4 separate regions of the Homo sapiens genome follow, and regions 2, 3 and 4 are each linked to region 1. The links are contacts of gene promoters, found by promoter capture Hi-C in blood cells and fetal thymus (Javierre and others, 2016). All regions are on one chromosome and are shown on one strand. Each heading gives the region's core, a stretch centred on a gene start or on the middle of the fragment in contact. The rest is flanking DNA. Distances are from core to core; before and after follow the strand shown. Region 1 holds the start of KCNG3 (potassium voltage-gated channel modifier subfamily G member 3). Region 2 has its middle 57 kb from the start of PKDCC. Region 3 has its middle 6.2 kb from the start of TRI-TAT2-1. Region 4 overlaps MTA3 (metastasis associated 1 family member 3).

Region 1 (2,613 bases), core at 56-2,555:
GGACCGACCGGTCCCGTAGTTGGCCGCGCCTGGGCCTCGCTGGGCGCGCACCCCGCTGGCTCGGTCGCCCGGAGGCGGACAGGACGGAGACGGGACGTATGGACGGGACGGACAGACGCGACAGGACGGACGGGACGGGTAGAGAAGCAGTGCGTCCTACCCGGAGGGCTCCCTCCCAGGGCCGGCGGAGTACCTGCTCCGGTCATCCAGGCTGCGGTTGTCGGCGGCTGCGTTGCGCCAGTCGGGCAACGTGCTGGCGCACAGCACCACCATGGACACGATCACGAACACCACCGACACGCTAGCCAGGATCTGCGCGGCCAGCGACGACGTGGGCTCCTCGAAGGTCCGCCGCATGCGCTCCAGCCAGCGCCTGGAGGGAGCCGCCTCGGCCCCGCCGGGGCGCGCCTCGTCGCGGCCCAGCACGCCCGGCTCGTCGGCCGAGTAGAAGGTGTAGGTGTCGGACATGCGGTCGTCGAGGCGGCGCTGGCAGCAGTACTCGAGGTGCGCGCCCTCCAGGCCCCAGTAGATCATCTCGTTGTAGAAGGAGAGCTCGCACATCCGCGGCGCGAAGCGCAGCTTGCCGTGGCCGCGCACGTAGAGCAGGATGAAGCCGAAGGCCTCCGAGTGCCGGTCGAAGAAGTACTCGTTGCGCTCGCGGTCGTAGTCGTCGCACACCTCGAGCACGTCGCGCTCGGAGCGGCAGCCGTGCAGCCGGCTCACGCGGCGCAGCGGGAAGTCCTTCAGCAGCTCCCGGGACAGCGAATACCGGGCGCCGCCCACGTTCAGCACCACCGAGGCCGCCCCGCTGCGCCCGAAGGTCATGGCTGGCCGCCCGGGGGACTTTCGGCCCGAGGGCCCCGCTGCAGCCCCCCACCCCAAGCCGCCACGCGGGGCCTGCCTGCCCGTGGCTGACGGGGGAGCGCGCCGTCGGGGCCCGCGCTCCCTCGGGGCTCCGCTCCTGCCCTCCGCTGGCCCGGGGGTCCCTGGGCTCGAGTATCTCCGGCGCTGCTAGTAGCGCGCCCTCCGCCCGGCGGTACCTGCGGGTGGCCGGGGAGTCCTCGCCGGCGCCAGCGCTGAGCCCCACCGGCTGGGAACGCGGCTGTGTCCGCGCCGCCGACCCTCGCGCCCGAGGGCTGCGCACACCGAGGCCGCGGTGCCCTCTCCCAAGCCGCGGGGCCGACCCCCTGAGGGCTGCGGGCGCCGAATGGAGCCGCCGGGGCGGAATAGCTCCCCGTCTCCGGCGCTCCCTGCGGCCGCGAATCCGGCGGCCGCCCCGCCGCCGTCCAGAGGCGAGAGGCAAAGTGAGCGGGTTCGGAGGCGGCGAAGAGCCGGCTCGCGGCGGCGGGGGCGGGGCCTCTGTGCAGTCCTCCTCCTCGCCCGCCGGCTCCGCGCGCGCCGCTCACCTCCCTCCGCGCCGCCCTCCGCTTCCCGCCCGCGCCCGCACCTCCCCGGCTTGCTCGGGCTGGGATTCCCGGGCGCCCCGCCCTGGACCTCGGGCTCCCCGCCTCGTGACGCCGTCCTCCCCCTCCGCTCCGGCCCGTAGTGGCGGGGAGGGGTCCGCAGGGCGGGGGAGCGGGGAGCCCAGCGCCGGGATGCCTGCTCCCGCGTCCTGCCCTGGGCCATCGGGATGAATTGGGCAGTCCCCAGGGCCCCTTTTAACAGCCCTGGTTCAAAGCCCAGTGTGGACTCGGGTGCGGGGACAGACGGCGTTTGGAGAGCTTTTTCCAGAAACTGTCCGGAGCCCAGCTCGGGTTCTGACATCGCCCCTAAGGATTTCTCAGGGAAGGCATCCCAGCCACGGCTTTTCCTGCCGACTTTGCTCTTCCTACCGCCGCGCGGGGCGACCCACGTACCGCGTGCTCAGAGGGCGGCTACACGCCCCATCCCCCAGCCTCGGTGCCGCCTGCCAGCCCGCGGAGGGAAGCGGTCCCCGACCCGGCCCCGGCCCCCACGTTCTGGGGCGCGAGTCCTGAGAAGGCGCCTAACGTGTAGCGCGCCTGGACCCTCTCGAGATGCTGCCCTTAGAGTGGGATGAAAGTCTGGGGAGGAACGCCTTGTCACCGGCAAAAACAGCCTTTCTCTTGGTCTTCGTCTGCATCCTCCTTTTCAAAATATCTTGATTTCCCCCGCGCACCCCTGACCCGGCTGCAGCACCGGCCCTCCGAGCGGGAAGAGCCCCGTGAAGGCTCCGCAGAGCGATCTACCCCGCGCTCTTGTCCGTGCCCAGAAAGCGGGTTCCACTTGGCAGGGATTATTTTAAACTGCTACCAGCAATTCATTCACCTGACACCCGACACCGGCAGCCCAGCCCGCCGGAGGCGAGACAGGTGAGTTGTAAGGCGAACCGTGTTAGATGCAAAACAAATACTAGAAGAAAAAAATAAGGGTGGGGTAGGGTGAGATGCGGTCATCTGACCACAGGGTAACCTGGCTGGTTAAAGGGAAGAGTTTTTCATTGCCCTCTACTTTTCGTAATTTTGTAGGATTGTCCGGTGCCCGCTAGAGGTCGCCAAACGGAGTCCTTTTGCGCTGGTTCTTAAGTGGATTCCTAGTGAAAAGGCAGACAACTGAAAATGTGAGTGCTGTCTTTTAAGTAAAATCACTCTCGGT
Region 2 (2,613 bases), core at 114-2,613, 390 kb before region 1:
CAATAAATCCCTATTGTGGGGGGGGGGCGGGGTAGAAAAGATGTGAGATACCTTTCCTCACCCTTCATAAGGGTCATTGCTATAGCAAAAGACTGATTAACAAGAGAAAAGCATAGCAAATTTACCGAATCAAAGTTTTATGGGACACAGGAGCCTTCAGAAATGAAAACCCAGTGACCCAGGGAAAACTGTCTATTTTTATGCCTAGGTAGAAATACACACTGTCCATTCTTCGTTGAACCTAAGCATAAAAATAGACAAAAGGATGCGATCTAATGGTAACAGACTGAGGGGAGAAACCCAGCAAGGCCTGTCTGTTCAGATTCTTCTTGGCCTCTCTGAGCAGCATTCCTTCCTCCTGGGTGTGGGGCAGGGGCTTTCTGGAGCACGGGTCTTATAACTCACAGTCAGAGGTAGATCAGAGAATCTCTTCATGGCCAGTGCCTACACAGAAAGGCAGGGGGAACTTAGAGTAACAGTTCTAGATTTTATGGCTTGCTTTGGGGGAAAGGGATTCTAGTTATTATGACCTGCCATAGGGAAGAGGAATTCTAGTTTCTATGAATTCAGGGAGAAGAAGGGGTGGGAAATAGGGCAAGAGAAGTTCAGAGAGAGATTTTACTTCTGAGACTGCTTCTAAGGCCTTCCAATCTCCTTTAGTTCAAAGTACTCAGCACGCCAAGGCATTATACTTTGACTTATCATTTTCTGAGCCCCAGCAAAATTTAAAACATAGTGAGTGAGTCTTCTAAACATGAAGTCACACCCCATTTCTGATGTAGAAGCTTACACTTTAGGAACTGCTACGGAAGCACTTTGCAAGCGCCATCTCACTGAATACTACTTAGAAGGAACTATTAACTCCCCGTTTTACAGATTAAAAATCTGAGTTTAGAGAGACTAATTAACTTGCCCGAGGACACCCAGCTAATAGGGGAGAAGTTTGAACCCACGGATCTGATTCCAGAGGTCATGTGTTAAACCTGTGCTGTACAATAAACTCTGCCAGTCTCTCTGATCAGAGATGGAAAGGACTCTATTGCAGTCTTCAGCCATCCTTCACAGTGAGGAAGACCTTCCTGTTACACTCACCTGCCTTTAGTCGACCTGAGTGATTGCATTCACATTGAATTCGATGGCTTTCCTGAGGGACCCAGGCAACCTATACTGAGGAAGAAACTATCCATAGGAACCGGATTCCAAATGAACTAGATGCAAGTCACCAAGGCCAGAGTCAGTCCTGGGCCAGCCTTTCCAGTATGATTTCAGGACCACAGGGCAGCGCCACTGGCATTTTTGCCAAAAATCAACCATAAAAGAACCATTGTGCTTAACACCAAACACATTTAATCCAAAAGTGTGCTTCCATTTATGCATGTCACTGCTACCTCACCTTGGTCCATGGTCCAAGGTGACTCAAATATGTATTTTATCTGGTACACCTAGCGTTTTTTTAAAAACGAATTAATTACCAAAAATTTTAAATTGGAAGATTATACCGAAATATCTGGATTTGTAAACAGTTTCCCCAAAACTAAAAATCTGGCCACACTGACCTGTATTCTGCAGTCTACCACAGGCTCCACCATCCCATCCTGTCTCTTTCTCTCACCAACTGCTTGGCCCACCCCTCCTCTCACACCAAAATGCAAATATTCCCTAAACAGGTAACTATTGAATCTAACTAGTCACATCGCAGCATGGAGATCTTATTCTGAGAGCTGGTTAAGGGAAATTAATTGAGGTAAATTACGGAGAGAAAGCATTGCTCCGCCAGACAGCGTCAGGCCATGGCCAGAGCACAGCAGAAAAGATTTCTACAGTTCTATAAAACCACAAGACGAGAAGTTGGTGTTTAAACAGCTGTTATGAAACTAGGGTGTGTGACAGAAACATCACCTGTTTCCCAAGAGCTCATCCTCTCACTTAATTCAGCAAACACCAAGCTTTTCTTAGCATCCTGGGCCCCCTTCCCTGCAACTCTTCTTTGGCAGTGCCTTGGGTGATAGTCAGAGGCAAAGTCTGGAGGTGATTAGATGGCTGCCGACTTAGGCTATAAGCGAGTCCAAAGGAATGGATCTGGCTTTTGATCAGGACAAAGCTACGTCCAGAGGAGAAGCTGAGTGAAGAGGAGGCACCAGTGATAAACTTGGGTTTGAGCAGCCAGGATGGAAGCACGATCTCATTCACCAAGATGGTGAGCAGCTGTGTTCTCTGAAACACAGACCACGTGAGCAAAAATTGTCTTCCCCCAATTTGGAGGCTCCTCCCGCCAAAGCAGTTTAATGGGCAGGCAGAGAGGAGGCAGAGTGAGGGAAGGTTTTATATGGAAATGTGGGAATGAATGAAAAGGCCTTACTTAAAAGGATCTATCTGATAGCCCTTGGGACAGCCTCAACCATCCCCAAATGCCTCTCTGGGGGGTGGGGAGGCATTCAGCTCTGTGGATATTTGAACTCCGACTGTTTTTGAAAGTCGCCCATGTGACAAATGTGTCAACAGAGCCCCGGATGTGCCCTCTGGGGTGGGGAGGAGGGTGGATGTGATCAAGTACATTTCAGGCTTTCAGAGAAACAGGAAATTCAGTAATCAGAGAGCAAAAAATCTATTCAA
Region 3 (2,613 bases), core at 65-2,564, 320 kb after region 1:
AGCATAACCATGGTATCATTATTACACCCAACAAGAGTAATAATAATTACTTAGCTTCATCTCATACCTCATCTGCTTTCAAATTGCTACCCATATCTCTGAAAAATATTTTTACAGAAGATTGGTTTGTTTGAATCAAGATCCAAATATGGGCTGTCCTTGGCATTTGATTGGTGTATCCTTTAAGATATTTAAAGGATAAATCTCTTTTAATCTATTCGAATTTCCTCTCTTTTCACCCCCTTTTATGACATTTCTTTGTTGACCTTTAGAATTTCCCACAGATTTTGGCTAATTGCATGCTCAAGGTTTTCTTCAGCCCCATGTTCTTCAATCCCTCATGGCAATTATATCTAGAAGCTTTATAATATTCAGATTATTTTTCCCCCAAAATATATTCTAGATGGTACTGTGTGCTATTGCACCACAAAAGAAAGTACATAATGTCTGGCTGTCCCACATTTAGAAATATGGCTTTTGATTGATGATTTCAGCATGGTCAGCAGAATCCATCCATTATAAAATCCTTCATCAGCCTCTAATCCTTCATCAGCGTGGTTGGCTGAATCCATCCATTATAAAGTCCTTCACCAGCCTCTAACCTAATGTTTTAGCAGCCGTTGATTATCTTGGTCTAAATCTATTATTTTTATTGAGGATTCCCCAATGGTGCTTTTCTAATTCTATTATTCCTTCTGTATTTATGACTATGGAAGCACAATTCACATAAGAAAGACTGGATAATTTCTTGATTCTTTCTCTTTTTCCACCAATCTTTGATTCCCTAATAATTTCTAAAGATAACCAATAAGTTTTAAATTTTAAAGCTTTTCTGAGTTATAGTTTATGTACAATGAATTGCATTAATAATGTTGAGTAGCTTTTCATATGCTTATTAGACATTAATATATCCTCTTTGGTGAAGTATTTTTTTGTTTTTTGTTTTTGAGATGGGGTCTTGTTTTGCCCCCCAGCCTAGAGTGCAGTGGCATGATATCACAGCCTCAAACTCCTGGATTCAAGCAATCCTCCTGCCTCAGCCTCCCCAGTAGCTGGGACCACAGGTGCAAGCCACCACTCCGGTCTTCTGTCTGCTTTTTATTGAGTTGTTTCTCTTTTCATTATTGGGTTGTAGAGATTTTCTGTATAATCTAGATGTAGTTCCCTTGTTGGATATATAATACGTATATTTTTTGAGACAGAGTCTTGCTCTGTCACCCAGGCTGGAGTGCAGTGGTGCAATCTCAGCTCACTGCAATCTCCGCCTCCCAGGTTAAACCGATTCTCCTGCCTCAGCCCCCCAAGTAGCTGGGACTACAGGTGCACACCATCATGGCCAGCTAATTTTTGTATTTTTAGTAGAGACAAGGTTCACCATGTTGGCCAGACTGGTCTTGAACTCCTGACCTCAGGTGATCCATCCACCTCGGCCACCCAAAGTGCTGGGATTTCAGGCATGCACCACTGTGTTTGGCCTGTGGATATATAATTTGTAATTACTTCCAGTTTGTGGCTTGGGTTTTCATTTTCTAATATCTGTTAACGAGCAAAATCTTAACATTTTGATGAAGTTCAATTCATTGATTTCTTTACCCATTATTGATTGTACTTTTGGTGCTATATCTAAATAACCTTTGTTTAACTCAAGGTCACCAAGATTTTAGTCCATGATTTAGTTCTTATATTTAGGTTTATGCTCCATTTTGAGTTGACTTAATTTTTGTGTATGGTGTGAGGTAAAGGTCTCATTTTGAGGGGGGTTGGGGTATGTGAGTATCTAAATTATGGCACCATTTGTTGAAAAGCTTATTCTTTCCTGATCAAATTGCCTTGGCATCTTATCAAAAACAAGCTGTCCATAAATGTGTTGCTCTATTGCTGTACTATCGTTCTATTCTATTGACCTGTCAGTATGGTGTTATGCCAACACTACACTGTGGTGATTACTGTAGATTTAGAGTAAGTTTGGAAACCAGGTATTATAAGTTCTCCAATTTTGTTCTTCTCTTTCAAAATGCTTTTGGCCATTGCAGGTCCTTTACATTTTCATATAAATTTTAGGTTCAGTTTACCAATTTCTATGAAAAGTTCTGCTTGGATTTTGATAGAAATTCTGTTAAATGTATTGATCAAGACGTTCAACAATTTGAGGAGAATTATCTTCTTCAAAATATGTCTTCTGCAGATCACCTGAGGTCAGGAGTTCGAGACCAGCCTGGCAACATGGTGAAACCCCATCTCTACTAAAAATACAAACATTAGCTGAGTGTGGTGGTGGATGCTTATAATCCCAGCTACTTGGAAGGCTGAAGCATGAGAATCGCTTGAACCAGGGAGGCAGCAGAGGTTGCAGTGAGCTGAAATCACACCACTGCACTCCAGCCTGGGAGATAGAGTGAGACTGTGTCTCCAAAAAAAAAAAAAAAAAAAGTCTTCTGATTCCATAAACATAGTATATCTCTCCATTTATTTAGGCCTTCCATTTCTTTAAGCAATGTTTCATAGTTTTTTTTTTTTTTTGAGACAGGGTCTCAAAAAATGTAAATGTATGTGTTCAATGTATTGGTCAATACATTCAACAATTTGAGAATTACCTTCTTAAAAGTGTGTCTT
Region 4 (2,613 bases), core at 32-2,531, 260 kb after region 1:
AACCCCTCCACCTCCTCCCTTCTGCAGCGCCCTGCGCCCCACCCAGCAACAGCGGCCACTTGGCAGTGGGGCTGCTGCAAGCTCAGAGCCGCTGCCACCCTGCATGTGTCCGCTCAGCTCGGTCTTATGCTGTATAGTTACTAAATATGTACAGGAGGGCCATGGCATCTTTCTGAATGGATTTTTCTTAAGAAATGCGCCAGTGTTTATGAGGTTCAAGGTATTTCCCTGTCCTTGCTGTTACCGTCACTCAGCTTTTTCTCGATAGGCTTCATCCTTGTTTTTTTGAAATGGGGGAATTTGCTGTTTACCCTCTGCATTCCTATATGTGACCCTCCCTCCTACTCCTCCAAGGAACAGAATTACCGAGGTTCTGACAAAAGATAAGCCTGTAAACTCATCATCTGTGTTTTGTGGTTGGAGAGAAACTGGTGTTCTGCCCGGCTCTGCTTGGTCACAGACAGCTCCAGCAAGAGCAGTTGTTAAAAGTGCCAAGCGTGTGTATCACTGTGACAAGCCGTTTGCTTACTGCCCTGTTCCCTTGCAGCCAAACCAGCTGATGAAGAACTGCTGCCAGGTGGGTCCTACAGCAGGTCACAAATGACCTAGTTTCATTTTAAGCAGACAGACTCTGTTTGGCCTAGAGGTGTGGAGTGAGAGAACTGTGTTTGTGGGTATGAGTCTGTGTGGCCAACCCCATGACCCCCACCCCTCCAGCCCAACATCTTGTGAGCACATGTGACCTAGGCCCCGGGGGACCTGCCTGCTCCTTTGGCTTGGGCTCTTCGTGTTTCCCACCTGCCCTCGGCACGAGCCCTTGGTGGCATCACAGTTGGCCACTCAGCTGTGCTGAGTAGCTGTGCTACTTGTGCTGGCAGCTGCAAGGATAGGAATAGCTCAGCGCCCGATGAGCTCCCTGAGCAGATGTGAGGCTGGCAACTCCCCTGCCCTCTGTTTGCAGGCACAGGGTCACAGTCCCAAGAAAGACAACTGGAGTCTGATCTCCCAGCCATCTCTGGGGTTACTAGGAGGCAGCTGGATGGCAGATACGAGAGGCCCAAATAGCCAAGCTGTTGCAAGACAGAGTGGCTACAATTGAATTGACACCCTGGGAAGCACGAGGTAACTTGGTAAGGATAATGATGCTGTAGATGTCTGTGTCCTCGGAGGCTGAGCTCCGCTTGGCAGAGAGAGCGTGCTGTGTGAGGTGGAGGGCGGTTTTGCAGACATCTCAGCTTCTTTTCTGAGGAGGAGTTGGTTCTCATCTTAGGCTTCTGCAAGGGCGAGCATGGGATGTCTCCACCACCACCCACTCTTGGAGCTGTGCTGGGTCTTGGCTTGGGGCGCTGAGGGTGGGGCCTGTGTCAGAAGCATTTGGTGAGAGGGGTGGAGGTGGCAGGCAGGGGTTCTCCTCAGGGTTCCCACTGAGGGGTCCCTTCAGCAAAGACCTGGGAGGAGGTGCCGCATCACGTGGATGTTTCTTCCCTAAAGAAAAAGACACAGGAAAGCTGTCTGTCTGTACCCTGCTCTGGATTTATTGTCGTACTTGGACCCAGAAGGGGAAATGATTCCCTCACCCTTTCACTTTCTCTCTGAACCCCTACTAAGTGGTGACTGCAGATTCTGGAAACAATTAGCTGCCCGTGACTCAGCTGCCAGCTTCATTTTCTCTGCCTTTTGGGAGAGGCCCTCTCACCCAGGCCCAAGAGATTTGGAGACAGGAGTCAGGCCAGGTCTGAAGCAGGAGAAGGGAGGCCCCTCCTATCTACCCAGTTGACATTTGGCTTTGGGAAAAGCGCAGCTTGTTCGAGCCACGTGTGCCAAGCAGGCTTTTCCTTCCTCTTGTAAGTAAAGCTCGTGGTTCTGTAGTCCAGTCATCCTAGGAGGGTGATGTTGACTGAGACTTCACGCTCTCCCTTTGTCTCTGGAAACTGCCCCCTCGTTCTGACAGAATCCCCCAGGCAATGGAGGAAGGGTGCCGAGGCGCCTCTAGTCTGTGCCTTTGCCGTTGGAAGCATTTGGTGCTGAGAGGGTTTCCCAGCCACCCGCTCCCTTTCTGGGGCCATGGTGTCCCTGCTGTGTGTCAGTGGCATGTCACTGTGGTTCAGTGAGCACATGGGTGGACGTGCAGAGACTGTCTGCGCAGCCCCCAGCAGACATGCCCCTGGGGTGAGGACACAGGCTCTGCAGGCTATCTCCCCCTCTGGCTCAGTCATCGCCTGCCCACCCTTCACTTCTTAAAGGTGCGCAAGAGAGGAGGGCCGACTGGAGGGTGTCGCCGGAAGGTTTCAGCCTGCCCTTCACAATTCCCCTTGTGCACAGCCCAGTTTCCATCTCTCAGGGCCCACCCAGGAAAATGGATTTCAAGTGGGGGTTTTCATCCAGAGATTTGTTTAACACAAAACAAGAAAAGCTGAGAGGCAAAACAGGGGAGTGAGGGGCAACCCAGAGGTGGGGAACAACAACAGCAAGCCGCCCCCATCCTGAGACTGGCTGGGCACCAGGGGAGGACGCGTCACCAGAGCCTGGGGCCAAGGCCACTGGGGGACCTGCCACACTGTGGACCTGTCTGGTGGGGGCTGGAGCCTCGAGAAGCCATGATTCTTGTCAGAA

What was found. The method cuts DNA at HindIII sites, captures the fragments that hold promoters and counts their contacts. A CHiCAGO score of 5 or more calls a contact.
Region 2: a contact is called between a fragment that was not itself captured here and the fragment with the promoter of KCNG3 in region 1, in 1 of 17 cell types (fetal thymus). The highest score is 5.6, in fetal thymus.
Region 3: a fragment that was not itself captured here is called in contact with the fragment with the promoter of KCNG3 in region 1 in 1 of 17 cell types (M0 macrophages); the score reaches 5.3 in M0 macrophages.
Region 4: a contact is called between a fragment that was not itself captured here and the fragment with the promoter of KCNG3 in region 1, in 6 of 17 cell types (megakaryocytes, M0 macrophages, M1 macrophages and 3 more). The highest score is 7.2, in megakaryocytes.

What each region holds. Positions count from the first base shown.
Region 1 is chr2:42,492,677-42,495,289 of GRCh38, forward strand. It overlaps KCNG3 (potassium voltage-gated channel modifier subfamily G member 3), which reads right to left and starts at 1,306. Exons shown (of 2, transcript NM_133329.6): 1 at 161-1,306. The coding sequence starts at 825. It also overlaps a transcript of MTA3 not described here. RefSeq lists enhancers at 1-250, 251-1,008, 2,333-2,613 and silencers at 1,089-1,178, 1,359-1,408, 1,499-1,578. The HindIII fragment of the contact is 17,203 bases long and covers 1-2,613 here.
Region 2 is chr2:42,103,679-42,106,291 of GRCh38, forward strand. No RefSeq gene overlaps it. Among named protein-coding and RNA genes, the nearest start is that of PKDCC, 57 kb to the left of the region's middle. The HindIII fragment of the contact is 1,161 bases long and covers 784-1,944 here.
Region 3 is chr2:42,815,422-42,818,034 of GRCh38, forward strand. No RefSeq gene overlaps it. Among named protein-coding and RNA genes, the nearest start is that of TRI-TAT2-1, 6.2 kb to the left of the region's middle. The HindIII fragment of the contact is 978 bases long and covers 826-1,803 here.
Region 4 is chr2:42,753,672-42,756,284 of GRCh38, forward strand. MTA3 (metastasis associated 1 family member 3) reads left to right here. Exons shown (of 17, transcript NM_001330442.2): 17 at 1-2,613. Among named protein-coding and RNA genes, the nearest start is that of OXER1, 9.2 kb to the right of the region's middle. RefSeq lists an enhancer at 2,373-2,613. The HindIII fragment of the contact is 5,030 bases long and covers 1-2,613 here.